Regions from separate parts of the Homo sapiens genome. Here regions 2 and 3 are each linked to region 1. Evidence: promoter capture Hi-C in 16 types of primary human blood cells and fetal thymus (Javierre and others, 2016). All regions are on one chromosome and are shown on one strand. Each heading gives the region's core, a stretch centred on a gene start or on the middle of the fragment in contact. The rest is flanking DNA. Distances are from core to core; before and after follow the strand shown. Region 1 holds the start of TMEM164 (transmembrane protein 164). Region 2 overlaps TMEM164 (transmembrane protein 164). Region 3 overlaps AMMECR1 (AMMECR nuclear protein 1).

The links. Contacts are between HindIII fragments. The CHiCAGO score rates a contact against its expected background, and 5 or more counts as called.
Region 2: a fragment that was not itself captured here is called in contact with the fragment with the promoter of TMEM164 in region 1 in 2 of 17 cell types (neutrophils and M2 macrophages); the score reaches 9.5 in neutrophils.
Region 3: a fragment that was not itself captured here is called in contact with the fragment with the promoter of TMEM164 in region 1 in 1 of 17 cell types (neutrophils); the score reaches 5.1 in neutrophils.

Annotation. Positions count from the first base shown.
Region 1 is chrX:110,001,157-110,005,050 of GRCh38, forward strand. It overlaps TMEM164 (transmembrane protein 164), which reads left to right and starts at 1,958. Exons shown (of 7, transcript NM_032227.4): 1 at 1,958-2,022; 2 at 2,345-3,008. The coding sequence starts at 2,619. RefSeq lists a silencer at 1,203-2,062 and an enhancer at 2,165-2,820. The HindIII fragment of the contact is 10,429 bases long and covers 1-3,894 here.
Region 2 is chrX:110,150,942-110,154,969 of GRCh38, forward strand. All of the region lies in intron 5 of TMEM164 (transmembrane protein 164), which reads left to right. Among named protein-coding and RNA genes, the nearest start is that of MIR3978, 71 kb to the left of the region's middle. The HindIII fragment of the contact is 797 bases long and covers 1,956-2,752 here.
Region 3 is chrX:110,191,273-110,195,265 of GRCh38, forward strand. It overlaps AMMECR1 (AMMECR nuclear protein 1), which reads right to left. Exons shown (of 6, transcript NM_015365.3): 6 at 2,914-3,993. Among named protein-coding and RNA genes, the nearest start is that of SNORD96B, 32 kb to the right of the region's middle. The HindIII fragment of the contact is 2,640 bases long and covers 1,336-3,975 here.

The DNA.
Region 1 (3,894 bases), core at 708-3,207:
ACTGCATCCTGTTTTATCAGCAAGGTCTTTGTGACCTATAATCTTGTGCCGACCTCCTATCTCATCCCGTGACTTGGAATGCCTAACTTTTTGGGAATGCAGCTCAGTAGGTCTCAGCGTCATTTTATCCAGGCCCTGTTCAAGATGGAGTCGCTCTGGTTCTAACGCCTCTGACACTTGGAGAACATCAGGCCTATGGTAGATGTTGTACAAAACTTGGAGTCAGACAAGGCTACCTGGCTGTACTTGTTCGGAAAACCAGACTTGGAAAAAACGGGAGGGCGATGGCCTGATAATACAGTAGATTGCATTTTATGTTTTGAGCCTGGCTTGCAGCCAACATCCAAAAGTGTTTCCTAGGCAAGGTGCCTAACTGTGTTTTTCTGGATATTCTTCTAACTCATCGTGAGTCTTCAATAAATATTAAATAAACATGAGGAAGGTCCTGAGAAGGTCCTTTTACTGACCCTTGTCTCAAGAAAAGCAAATAGCCGATCGGTAAAAAGCAGCAGGTAGGAAGAGGGGATTTTATTTCCGTCAGTTGCCCTTATCCAGGTTTTGGGCTTAGTGCTGCTCCTCCACACTCATATAGTCCTGGCTGGCTTTTCCACGCATAGGTTAGGAAGCAACTGCTCTGGGGAGGGGGAAGGGGGGAAGAGGGGGAGGGAAAGAGGTCACGGGAAGCCTCCCTTCCTCCCACTGGCCTACCATTGAAGGCCTGTCAGGAGAAAGGAGAGAAGTGGGAGAGGGAGAGGGTGTGGCAGGGGTGGTCTGTGTGGCAAGAGGTAGAGAGAAAATAGTGGATCAGAGCAGGAGGGGGAGGAGCAGGGAAATGAAGCTCCTGTCCTAGGCACTGAAGTGTGGAGTGGGGCTGTGGCTAGAAAGGGGAGAGAAGATGCCTTTCTGGCCTTGCATGAGTCGTGGCAGAAAGGAGGAATCGCGAAGAGGAGCCGGCCATACCCAGCACACACCCCGAAGCCAAGCTGCTCATTACTAGAAAGGCTTATTCCCCCACAAGAAGTTAGTGCGGGCCAGCTAAGTGCCTACTATGTGTGCAGTATAGAAAGAAGTGCCCTGGAGAACCAGGTCGCGGGAGGCGGAGCCAGTCAACAGGGCTTCACCGAGGGGGCGAATTCTGTACACGGTTGTGAAGGAGGGTGGCTGTGCACGCGTGCAGGCTCCGAGTGCAGAAGACGAGGCAGGCCAGGGAGGAGGCGGAAGGAGGCGGAGCCTGAGCCGGAGGAGGGAGGAGGAGGGAGGAGGAGGAGGGAGAGCCGAAGCCGCGGAGGGTGGGAGGTGTGAATGGTGGACGGGTGAGGGGAGTGCCAGAGGCAGAAAAGGGAAGGAGGCGAGGAGGAGTAGTCGTGGCCCGAGGGCGTGTGGTGGGGCGAGAGCTGAACTGGACGGGAGGAGGGAGGCAGTGGCGGTGGCAGCGGGGAGGGGGAGGAGAGAGGGAGGGGAAGAAGGAGGAAGCGAGCGCGGCTGCTGCAGGGGGAGGAAGACGGGGAGGAGGAGCCGTGCGCCGCGGCGGCGGCCGCCAGGGGAACCGAGCGCCCGGCGCGGAGAGCGCGGGAGCGGAGCAGTAGCCCGATCCGGGGCCGCGGGCCGAGCTGCCGGTGAGTGAAGCCCCGAGGGGCGCGGCGGCCGGTCCCCGGGGCTGGGCGGGAGGCGCGGGAGGTTGCGGCGCCGGGGAGGAGGGAGGGGGGCCGGCTTTAGTCCAGGGGCCGGCTTTAGTCCAGCCCCCGGCTGGCCCGGCCTCCCGCCTTCCCTCTGGCTTCCTCCCTCCGCTGCCTGCGCGAGGGGGGCAGGTCCCGGGCGGGCCGCGGGCTGGGGGTGGTGCTGCCCGGAGGGCGGGCGTCTAGGGCCGGAGGGTGGAGCTGGGGGTTCGGGGGTGTACCCGGGGGCGGGAGGCTGGACAAGGACGGCTCTAAATTGGCTGGAGGGGCCCGTCGGCGGCGAAGTTGCTAGCTGGGGGCAGAGACGGCCACGCGGTTGCAGGAGTAAGAGATCCCTCTGTGGCGAGTGCGTGAGACGAGGAGTCCGGCGTCCCTGCCATCCCCGTCGCCCTCCCCGCCTGCTCGGCCCCGCTAGCTCCTCTCCTTGCCTCCGCGTGTCCCCTAGCTCTGACCCCTTTTGGCTCCCGGTTCGCTGCCGCAGCACTGCCGGGTCTCCTTGGCCCCCGCCCTGACCCTTTCGGCCTCCGGCTTCCCCTGACCCCTGCTTGCTTCGCCACTGCCCCGTTCCCGTTTTCTTCCCTCGCTAGTTACCCCTCCCGCTTCCTAATTCCCGGTGCAATTGCCTCTTTGAGACCTCTTTTTTTTTTTTTTCCTCTCCTTCCTTTTAGATTGGCCAACGGCTCCTTTCAACCCTGCCTCGTTGGTGGCCACTGGAGAAGCGCGGGGGGCTCCCCCAGACAGCCGTGGGGACAAGTTAGAGCCAGCACTTTACCCCGGGCCTTGCGTGTAGCTTCCCCTCCCCTACTCTCGGTGCCCTGGTGTCTGGAGGGGGGTTGTGGGGGTGTGCCCGCCTTACATGGTCCACCACCCGGGCAACCCTCTGGGCTTGTGTTCCATCTCACTCTTGCTTCCTGTACTGTGGTCAAGGGGAACCACTGCATCATGTCCCGGTATAGCTACCAGAGTCTCCTGGACTGGCTCTATGGGGGCGTGGACCCCAGTTTTGCAGGCAATGGGGGCCCCGACTGTGCTGCCTTCCTCTCTTGGCAGCAGCGGCTGCTGGAAAGTGTGGTGGTCCTGACCCTGGCTCTGTTGGAGATCCTGGTGGCCCTGCGGCACATCCTGAGGCAGACGAAGGAGGACGGTAGGGGTAGCCCTGGCAGCCAGCCAGAGCAGGTGACCCAGCGGCCAGAGGAAGGCAAGGAGAGCCTGAGCAAGAATCTGCTCTTAGTAGCCCTGTGCCTGACCTTCGGGGTGGAGGTGGGCTTTAAGTTCGCCACCAAGACCGTCATCTACCTGCTCAACCCCTGTCACCTGGTCACCATGATGCATGTGAGTCTGTTGACTTTTTCCTGGGCATCCTAAGTGATAAGAGTCATTTATGTGCTCAGGACACTCCATAGTGTACAGCACCTCATCCCGGCGGGCAGGGGGACCTTTAAAAATGATTTTCCAACGAGTGGCTGCCTTTGTGCCGATTTCAGGTTTGGCTTTCTTTCACCTTTGCACAGTGCGTCAGCCCCACAGTGGAGGTGAGGAACCTTGTGCCTGAACCCTAGGAACGACTGGCACTCACCCTGGCTGCCCCTCCCTTCCAGCCCAGCCCAACCCTGCCGTGCCCTGGGCTTTCACAAGCAGGAATTCCAGCCCCAGCCAGGTGCCCTTTCTGAATCACATCAGTGGACCATGACCCAGCTCCCTTGCCTTCTGTGGTAGTTAATTTCCCAGGGGCCTGGTGACACTCTTTCCTGGAGGTGGTCGCATAAACTTTCTCATCTACACTGTGGTACTTTGGGGAAATACTTTTACAGGTTTCTCTTAATGACTCTTTCATTTGGGAGTGTATGCTCTTAGAGTGAGGTCTGCCTTTGCATTTTGAGGCATTGGAGCAGCACCAAGCTCCTACTAAATGAGTTCTGAAGCAGGTCCCCAGGCTGACATGTGTACTTTGGGCTGGTGATCACTATGGTGAGAGGGTATTTCTTTTTTTGCAAACCTCTCCATCCTATTACTGTCATTCTGTCTCCTATGGTCATAGTCCAAGGGTGCTTAGGAAGCTGATTTCTTTACCTCATCGACTTCCACCCATTAGCGGTGCTAAGGAAAACAAATGGGATTGAAAAGGCAAGTTGCCAGATACATAAAAATAATCTGGGTGAGGACCAAGAGTGAGACTGTCTGTATTCAGCCTGTGTGGAGAGATGTTCTAAAGCTATAA
Region 2 (4,028 bases), core at 1,104-3,603, 150 kb after region 1:
CATTTAATCCTATAACAACTCTGTTAGGAAGGTGTTATTATTATCTCCCTTTTATGGAAGAGGAAACTGGTACTCAAATAGCAAGTGACAGTCCCCGGATTTGAAGCCAGTAGTATGGTTCCACGGTTCTTGCTTTTAATCATAACACAAAGTTACAACACTATATCATAATTTATTTTTTTCAGTCTGCTATTGATGGACATTTAGGTTGTTTCAAATCTTTTGATAATGTAAATAACACTGCACTGAAGGAACTGGTACCTTTGCCATTTTGCGTGTGTGCAAGAATATCTATAGGATATATTCCCAGAAGTGGTAATGCTGAATCACAGTATATGCATTTGTATTTTTGTTGGATATTTCCAAATCCATGAAAGTTGTACCAGTTTAAATGTTTACTAGCAATGTATGAGAGTGTCTGTTTCTACACAACCTCACCAAATTGGATTTTTGCCCATCTGATGGGTTAAAAAAAAAAGGTATATCAGTTCGATTTTAATTTTAATTTCACTTTGAGTGAAGCCAAGTGTCTTTTTACATATTTAAAATTGGCATTTGGCTGGGCATGGTGGCTCAAGCCTGTAATCCCAGCACTTTGGGAGACCGAGGTGGGTGGATCACCTGAGGTCATGAGTTCGAGACCAGCCTGGCCAACATGGCGAAACCCCCTCTCTACTAAAAATACAAAAATTAGCCAAGTGTGGTGGTGCGCATGCCCGTATTCCCAGGTACTCGGGAAGCTGAGGCATGAGAATCGCTTGAACCCAGGAGGTGGAGGTTGCAGTGAGCCGAGATTGTGCCACTGCACTCCAGCCTGTGCAACAGAGTGAGACTCAGTCTCAACAAAATAAAATAAAATAAAATTGGCATTTGATTTCCTCTTCCTTGAACTACATGCTCCTATCACATGCTCATTGTTCAATTGTGTTGGCCTTTTTACAAAATTTGAATCCTAAGAGCTTGTTACATATAAATATTAACAGTTTACCCTTTATGATATGAGCTACAGATATTGTCCTCAGTTGTGTTTTCTTTTGACTTTGCTAATGTTTTATTCTTGCCATGCAGGATTTTAAAATTTCTTTTTCTTCTTCTTTTTTTTTTCTTTTCTTTTCTTTTTTTTTTTTTTGTCTGAGACGTAGTCTCACTCTGTTGCCAGGCTGGAGTGCAGTGGCGTGATCTCAGCTCACTGCAGCCTCCGCCTCCCGGGTTCAAGCGATTCTCCTGCCTCAGCCTCCCAAGTAGCTGGGACTATAGGCACGTGCCACCACGCCCGGCTAATTTTTGTATTTTTAGTAGAGACGGGGTTTCACCATGTTGGCCAGGATGGTCTTGATCTCTTGACCTCGTGATCTGCCCACTTCGGCCTCCCAAAGTGCTGGGATTACAGGCATGAGTCACCCTGCCCAGCTGAATTTTTACCTTTCTATGTAATTTATCTTTTATGGCATCTGAATTTAGAGTCATGGTTAGAAAGCCCTTTACTACTCCAAGGTTATAAAAAATATATATCCCATATTTTCTTCTGGTATGTTTATAGTTCCTTTTATTATTATTTTTTACATTTAAGTCTTTTATTCACTTGGAATATATCCTGATATACAGTGCAAGATAAAGATCCAACTTTATTTCCAGCTGGCTTCCCATTTGTCCCCACACTGTTTATTAAATAGTCCAACATGATCCAATCTGCTTGTGGAGAAGATCATATTGGCTGCTGTGTGGAGAAATCACTGGGTCCTCCTGCTCTTACCTCCTAAATATCTCTCAGACTCATCCTCTCCTTACCATCTCTAGGACCAGTACCTTGGGCCAAGCCTTGCACATCTCTTCCCTCAATGATGATAATTGGCTCTGTGTGATCTCTCTCCAGCCAGCCTCCTTTGCTCCCCCTAAGCCCATTCCTGGAGCTACTTCTATAGCTCAAATAGGATCATAGCTCTTTGTCATTTGGAAGCTTTCAGTGGCCCCCCATCTTCCCCAGTGCACAAGACCGTATGACCTGATACCCAACCCCTTCTCCAACCTCATGTCTTTACACTCCCTTCTTTATACTGTACACTGTGGTGATACCCAAATCCTTGGGGTTCCCTGAGTATTTTATCCAATTTTCATGCCTCTGTGCCTTTGAAAATGCTGTGATTTCTGCCAGGAATGCTCTTCTCCAGCTGTGGGCCTAGAAACATTCATTTGTCAAAACTCATGTCAGTAGTTACTTTCTCCAAGAAGCCCTCTGTAACTATTCTACCCCAGCTCCCGCCAGCTGCCTCTGTTCCTCCCATTTTTGTCATCCTCACAGTATAGTCTTTACATGCTGGTCTCCCTGAGGACAGGAATTTTTCATTTCTTCTTGGTATGTAGGTGATGAATGAATGAATGAATGACCTTCTATTCAGGGATGTATTCCTGTACTGCAAATTGCACATAATTTATTATACATCTTACAAGCTAATGTTTACTAGGCACTGGGTTTGTTACATGTGTGATCTTGATCTCATTTAATTCCCACAGTGTCCACTAGACTTATGGGAGTACATCACGTGAGGCCCATGACCTTGAATGAGAAAAATAATCACATCTTTATGTCCATTAACTGCAACTGAAATACAGTCATCTCTCGGTATCCATGGGGAATTGGTTCTAGGACTTCCCCCACCACAAATACCAAAATCCAAGGATGCTCAAGTCCCTAATGTAAATGACGTAGTATTTGCATCTAACCTACACACATCCTCCTGTATACTTTAAAGGAAGCTTGTCTAACCTGTGGCCTAGGATGGATTTGAATGTGGCCCAACACAAATTTGTAAACTTTCTTAAAACATTATATTTGAAAAAAATTTTTTTTCAGCTCATCAGCTATCAGTAGTGTATTTTATGCGTGGCCCAAGACAATTCTCCTTCCCATGTGGCCCAGGGAAGCCAAAAAATTGGACATCCCTGCTTTAAATCATCTCTAGATTACTCATAATACCTAATACAATGTAAATGCTATATACATAGTTGTTATACTGTTTTTTATTTGTATTTTTTTTTACTATTGTTATTTTCATTTTTAAAAAATATTTTTGATCTGTGGTTGGTCAAATCCACAGATGCGGAACTTGCAGATATGGAGGGCCGACTTTGTGGTATATCCTTTAGTAAGGAATGTAGATAACAAACCACAGTTACATTAGCAGCACTTGGCATGCTGTTGTTAATGTAAATTACACTTATTTTCCTCTTATGTTAGAGTTGTTGCAGATATCTCAAAAAATCATTGGCATTCATCATTACCTCAAAATTTAAAAACAGATGTGCCTTTTAAAAGCATTTTGATAACTATAGTTCAACATGATTATTTTCTTTTATAATCCTATATATTCTATTTCGTATACTTAAATACTTTATTCTGAGAGAGAGCCTTTACACTTCCCCAGACTGCCCAAGGAGTGCATAGTACCACCAAGGTTAGGAGTCCCTTTACTAGAGTTTATTTTATTTTTATTTTTTTGAGACAGATACTCACTGTGTCACCCTGGCTGGAGTGCAGTGACCTGATCTTGGCTCACTGCAACCTCTGCTTCTCGGGTTCAATCAATTCTCGCACCTCAGCCTCCAGAATAGCTAGAAGTACAGTCACATGCTGCCACGCCCGGCTAGTTTTTGCATTTTTTGTAGAGATAGGGTTTCACCATGTTGGCCAGGGTGGTCTGGAACTCCTGGCCTCAAGTGATCCGCCTGCCTCTGCCTCCCAAAGTGCTGGGATTATAGGCATGAGCCACTGTGCCTGGCCTGCACTAGAGTTTAAACTGGTGTTTGAAACCAGGTGGGCAGAGATGCCTCTATGCTGCCTGTCCATGGAGTCGCTGGATTCAGACAGACTGTAGGTACAAATCCTAGTTATCCCACTTGCTAGTTAGTTCTGGCATTTGGTCGAGTACCTTGACCTCTCTGTGTCTGTTTTCTCACTTGCAAAATGAGGGTAGTAATAGTACCTACCTCATAGGGTGTTATGAGGATTCACTGAGCTGATACATGAAGAG
Region 3 (3,993 bases), core at 1,406-3,905, 190 kb after region 1:
AAAGATGCCATGGCAGTTGGTGAGCACGGAGGCATGTAATTCAGCCACTGCCCAGCTGTGTGCTGCAGACAGAGAGCATACTCTACATCTCACCTCTGTCAAATTAAGTAATCATCTGTCATGATGGAAAGCTGTAAGTGCAGGTCAGTGTTGGTTTACGTATAGCTGCACCCTCCACCGGCTCTCTGGGTGGGTCCATTTAAACAATTTGAGATATATATAGTCAGTACCTTCCAAACATAATACATTAAGAGGTAATTTTTAATTTTTTAATTGATACAAAATTGTACATATTTATGAGCGACACAGTGATGTTTCAATACATACAATGTATAGTGGTCAAATTAGGGTAATTAGCATATGTGTCACTGCAGACATTTATCATTTCTTTATGTTGGGAACATTCAAAATCCTGTCTTCTAGTTATACAAAGATATATCTTAAATTCATAACTATAGACACCCTACAGTGCTATAGAACACCAGAACTTATTCCTCCAGTCTAGTTGTATTTTTCTATCCTTTAACCCAGTGGTCCCCAACCTTTTTGGCACCAGGGACCGGTTTCATGGAAGACAGTTTTTCCACGGATGGGGTGGGTGGCAGTAGATTCTCATAAGCAGCACACAACCTAGATCCCTCACATGTGCAGTTCACAATAGGGTTCATGCTCCTATGAGAATCTAGTCCCACCACTGATCTGACACGAGGTGGAGCTCAGGCGGTAATGCTTGCTTGCCCACTGCTCACTTCCTGCTGTGCAACCCCGTTCCTAACAGGCCACGGACCAGTTCTGGTCCACGGCCCGGGGGTTGGGGATCCCTACTTTAACCAACCTCTCCCTTTTCACTCTCCCAACCCTTCCCAGCTTCTAGTAACCACTATTCTACTCTCCACTTCTATGAGATCAACTTCTTTAGCTCGCACATGAGTGAGAACATGCGGTATTTACCTTCCTGTGTCTGGCTTATTTAACATAATGTCCTCCAAGCTGATCCACGTTGCTGCAAATGACAGGATTTCAATCTTATTTATGGCTGAATAATATCCCATTATATACACAGCAATTTTTATTAAGGGGTCATTTCTAAACAAGGTTGTAACCAAGCGCTTGGGGTGAGGATGTAGATTGGCTTCAGAACAGTGCTTGAGACCTAATGTGATTCCCTCCAATTCTTGAAAGAGTTCTTCCAACAAGTTTGAGGTTTGAACACGAGATTGTCCCATGGGGCTACAGGTGTCAAGGCAGGCCTTTTAATGCAGTAGCCAAAAATAGTATATCCAGGGCTTTCCTCACTTGCATCCTCCCATTCATTTCTTCCTCCTGTAGGTGAAAAGCTTGAGCATACAGATGGGAAGCTATGAGAGCTTACCCAACCCAAACCCATACTTATCTTGGCTTATGTGGTTGAAGCTGCAGGAAGTGGGAGAAGCCATTCTCTGAATGGGCAGTCATTCACTGGCTGTCCTGGCTGGCAGCTCTGAATCCCGGTGTGACTTCTCCACCGCAGACTTCTCCTTACCTCACACTGATAGGACCCCTTAGATAGGGTAGTATTTCCCAGCAACAGAGGGGCACTGCTTCATCCTACACGCCCATACTTGCCCTCGGAAGCAGTAAAGCTATTTACACAGGGTCCAGAGGGGCATGAAATCTAAAGTGGAAATGCTGAAACTCTGGGAAGAATTTAGGTAGGTGGAGTGTGATTACTGAAGTTGAAATTTGTCCAGACCAGAGTTAACCACTAATGCTGTAAAAAAGAATGCTGTGGGCTCATTAAACTACTTCATTCTACCTGAACCTATTAATATGGTCGAAATCATTGAAAAATCTTATGTCCCATTAAACATGAATGATGAAAATAGGTAAAACCTGAGCAGATGGCTGCCTTTATGGAGCACTGGTTAAAACCACAATAGTCCTCTAGGATCTAAGAACACTTTTTAGCCACTGTGATTGACATAAGCACGTGTCATAAAATTTACATGGTTACCAGGGCTTTGGGGCAATGTAACAGAAATTGTCCTGGATATATTCAACTAGCAGCTAATCTTGAAATGTGCGTGAGACAGCAAATGTTTTAGAAAGAGCCAGAGGTATTTCCATACACAAGTACAATGTCCTTGGTAGCCTTTCCATAGAGAAAGGGATAAGGCAACAGTAGGCAGAGGCAGCACCCCAAGAGATTCCTTTCTTGACATAGGCTCTTATCTGGCCCTTGAAAGTCAATACCACCAGTTGCCCTACCCTACAATCCAGGTGTTTCCCCCAAGCCCAAGTTGGGGGTACCAATCTGGAACTGGAAAAAATAGCTGGTAATAAGTGTAAGCGTGTGGTATGCCTAGTGTGTGTATGAGTACGTACAAGCTCTGGGTGACCACATCTTGAGCATTTTCAGACTCTGTCCTATACTCAGAAAATGGGCAAGCCTTGATGGTAGGAGAAGGGGTCCCCATATCAGATGATTTAACTGAATAGCACTGCTACTGCCCCTCACCAGCTCACAAAGAGGAAATGCCCAATAACCACTGACTGATTTGGAGCGGACCTAAGCACAGCTAAGCTCCCGCCAGAATTCAAGTCTGATATTTGCCTGAGTTCTGTGGCAAAGGATCTGAAGGATCCTTAAAGGATCAATGTGGCCAGGTTAGGGTGTCCAAATAAAGGCTAATCTATATCAGCAAGCCAGGATTCAGAGATAGACAAAAGGATGACATTGGCAAATCATATGGCAGGGAGTGGCTACAAGCAGGTAAGGTTTCCCAAGTGCTAGTTTGGCAATAAATCAGTATCTGTTCCTAACTATATTCCTTCAGAGCCTTCAACTGTTAACCTTTTAGTAAGAAGTACCGACGAGACCAAGATCCTATGATGAGAGAGGTTAAACTTAAAAAAGAAACATAAAATGATAACTCGGTTTTAACATTTTATTGGGTAAATGATTTTAAAGGTAATAACAATAGTGTCAAAACTACTACAATATCTTTCCACAGCCATACCTTACAGACCCACATAAACCTTCTCATATTTTTTCTTTTTGCTCATATTTAATATTGTAAAGCCATACATGTCATATAAAATGCCCATTTCCAATAGTTTCTTCAAACTATTAAGCAATTAAATGTGGAAGGAAGGAGGGCCTAGTTATACTGGAAGGGGTTTCAGGTAATCTGTGATGTCTTACGGTAATCAAAAAACAGGTTACTAAGAAAGAAGGAAAAGAGGAGCTACTCCAGGTAGCTTTTTGCTCATTACAAGTCTCACCATTGTATCACCAAGAACTCATTATGCTGGTGACAGATTCAAAGTAATTTTGGGGAACATATAAAACACTAAAATAACTTAGAAACTAGATCCAAATATTTCAAAAGTAATCAACTTTGATATACAAAAGTAGTCAGAGGTGGTTACAAAAGTTTGTTTGCTCAGTGCGTCTATGTACCAGCGCAGTTACTGGGTAGAGCAAAATAAAAGGTTCATTTTCTTCTGAAATAGCAATAAAAAACAAGGAAAACATATATTTGTATATAAAGGATCAATGCTGGTCTTAAGAATAATGTCATCAGAAACCCTTAAATCGAGAGGCACACAACGGGTTTCCACTTTTAAAAAATAAAAGGAAAGTCACCAGTTTATTTAAATGGAGGAGGTGCTCACACCCCTCAAATAAACTTAATTCATTTTAACATCACTAGCAAAAATCACTTAGAAACTGTACAAAAATAAAAAAGTTAACACATTTAATCCTGCAAGGTTTTTGTAAGGACTGGAAGGCAGGCTTTTGAAGCAGCATTTGGGCATGGCTGGGGGCTTCTTTGGTTTGATCTAACACACATAAGAGATGGAACCTATTCCAGATGACAGTTTCAAATTTCCTGCACATTTGAAGACAAGATAAGAGGCCAGTATACAAACTTCCGGTGTGCTGGGCACTGGGACTGTATGTGCTGGACTGAAAATCTTACAACTGCTTTAAGCTTTAAGGGTGAGGGG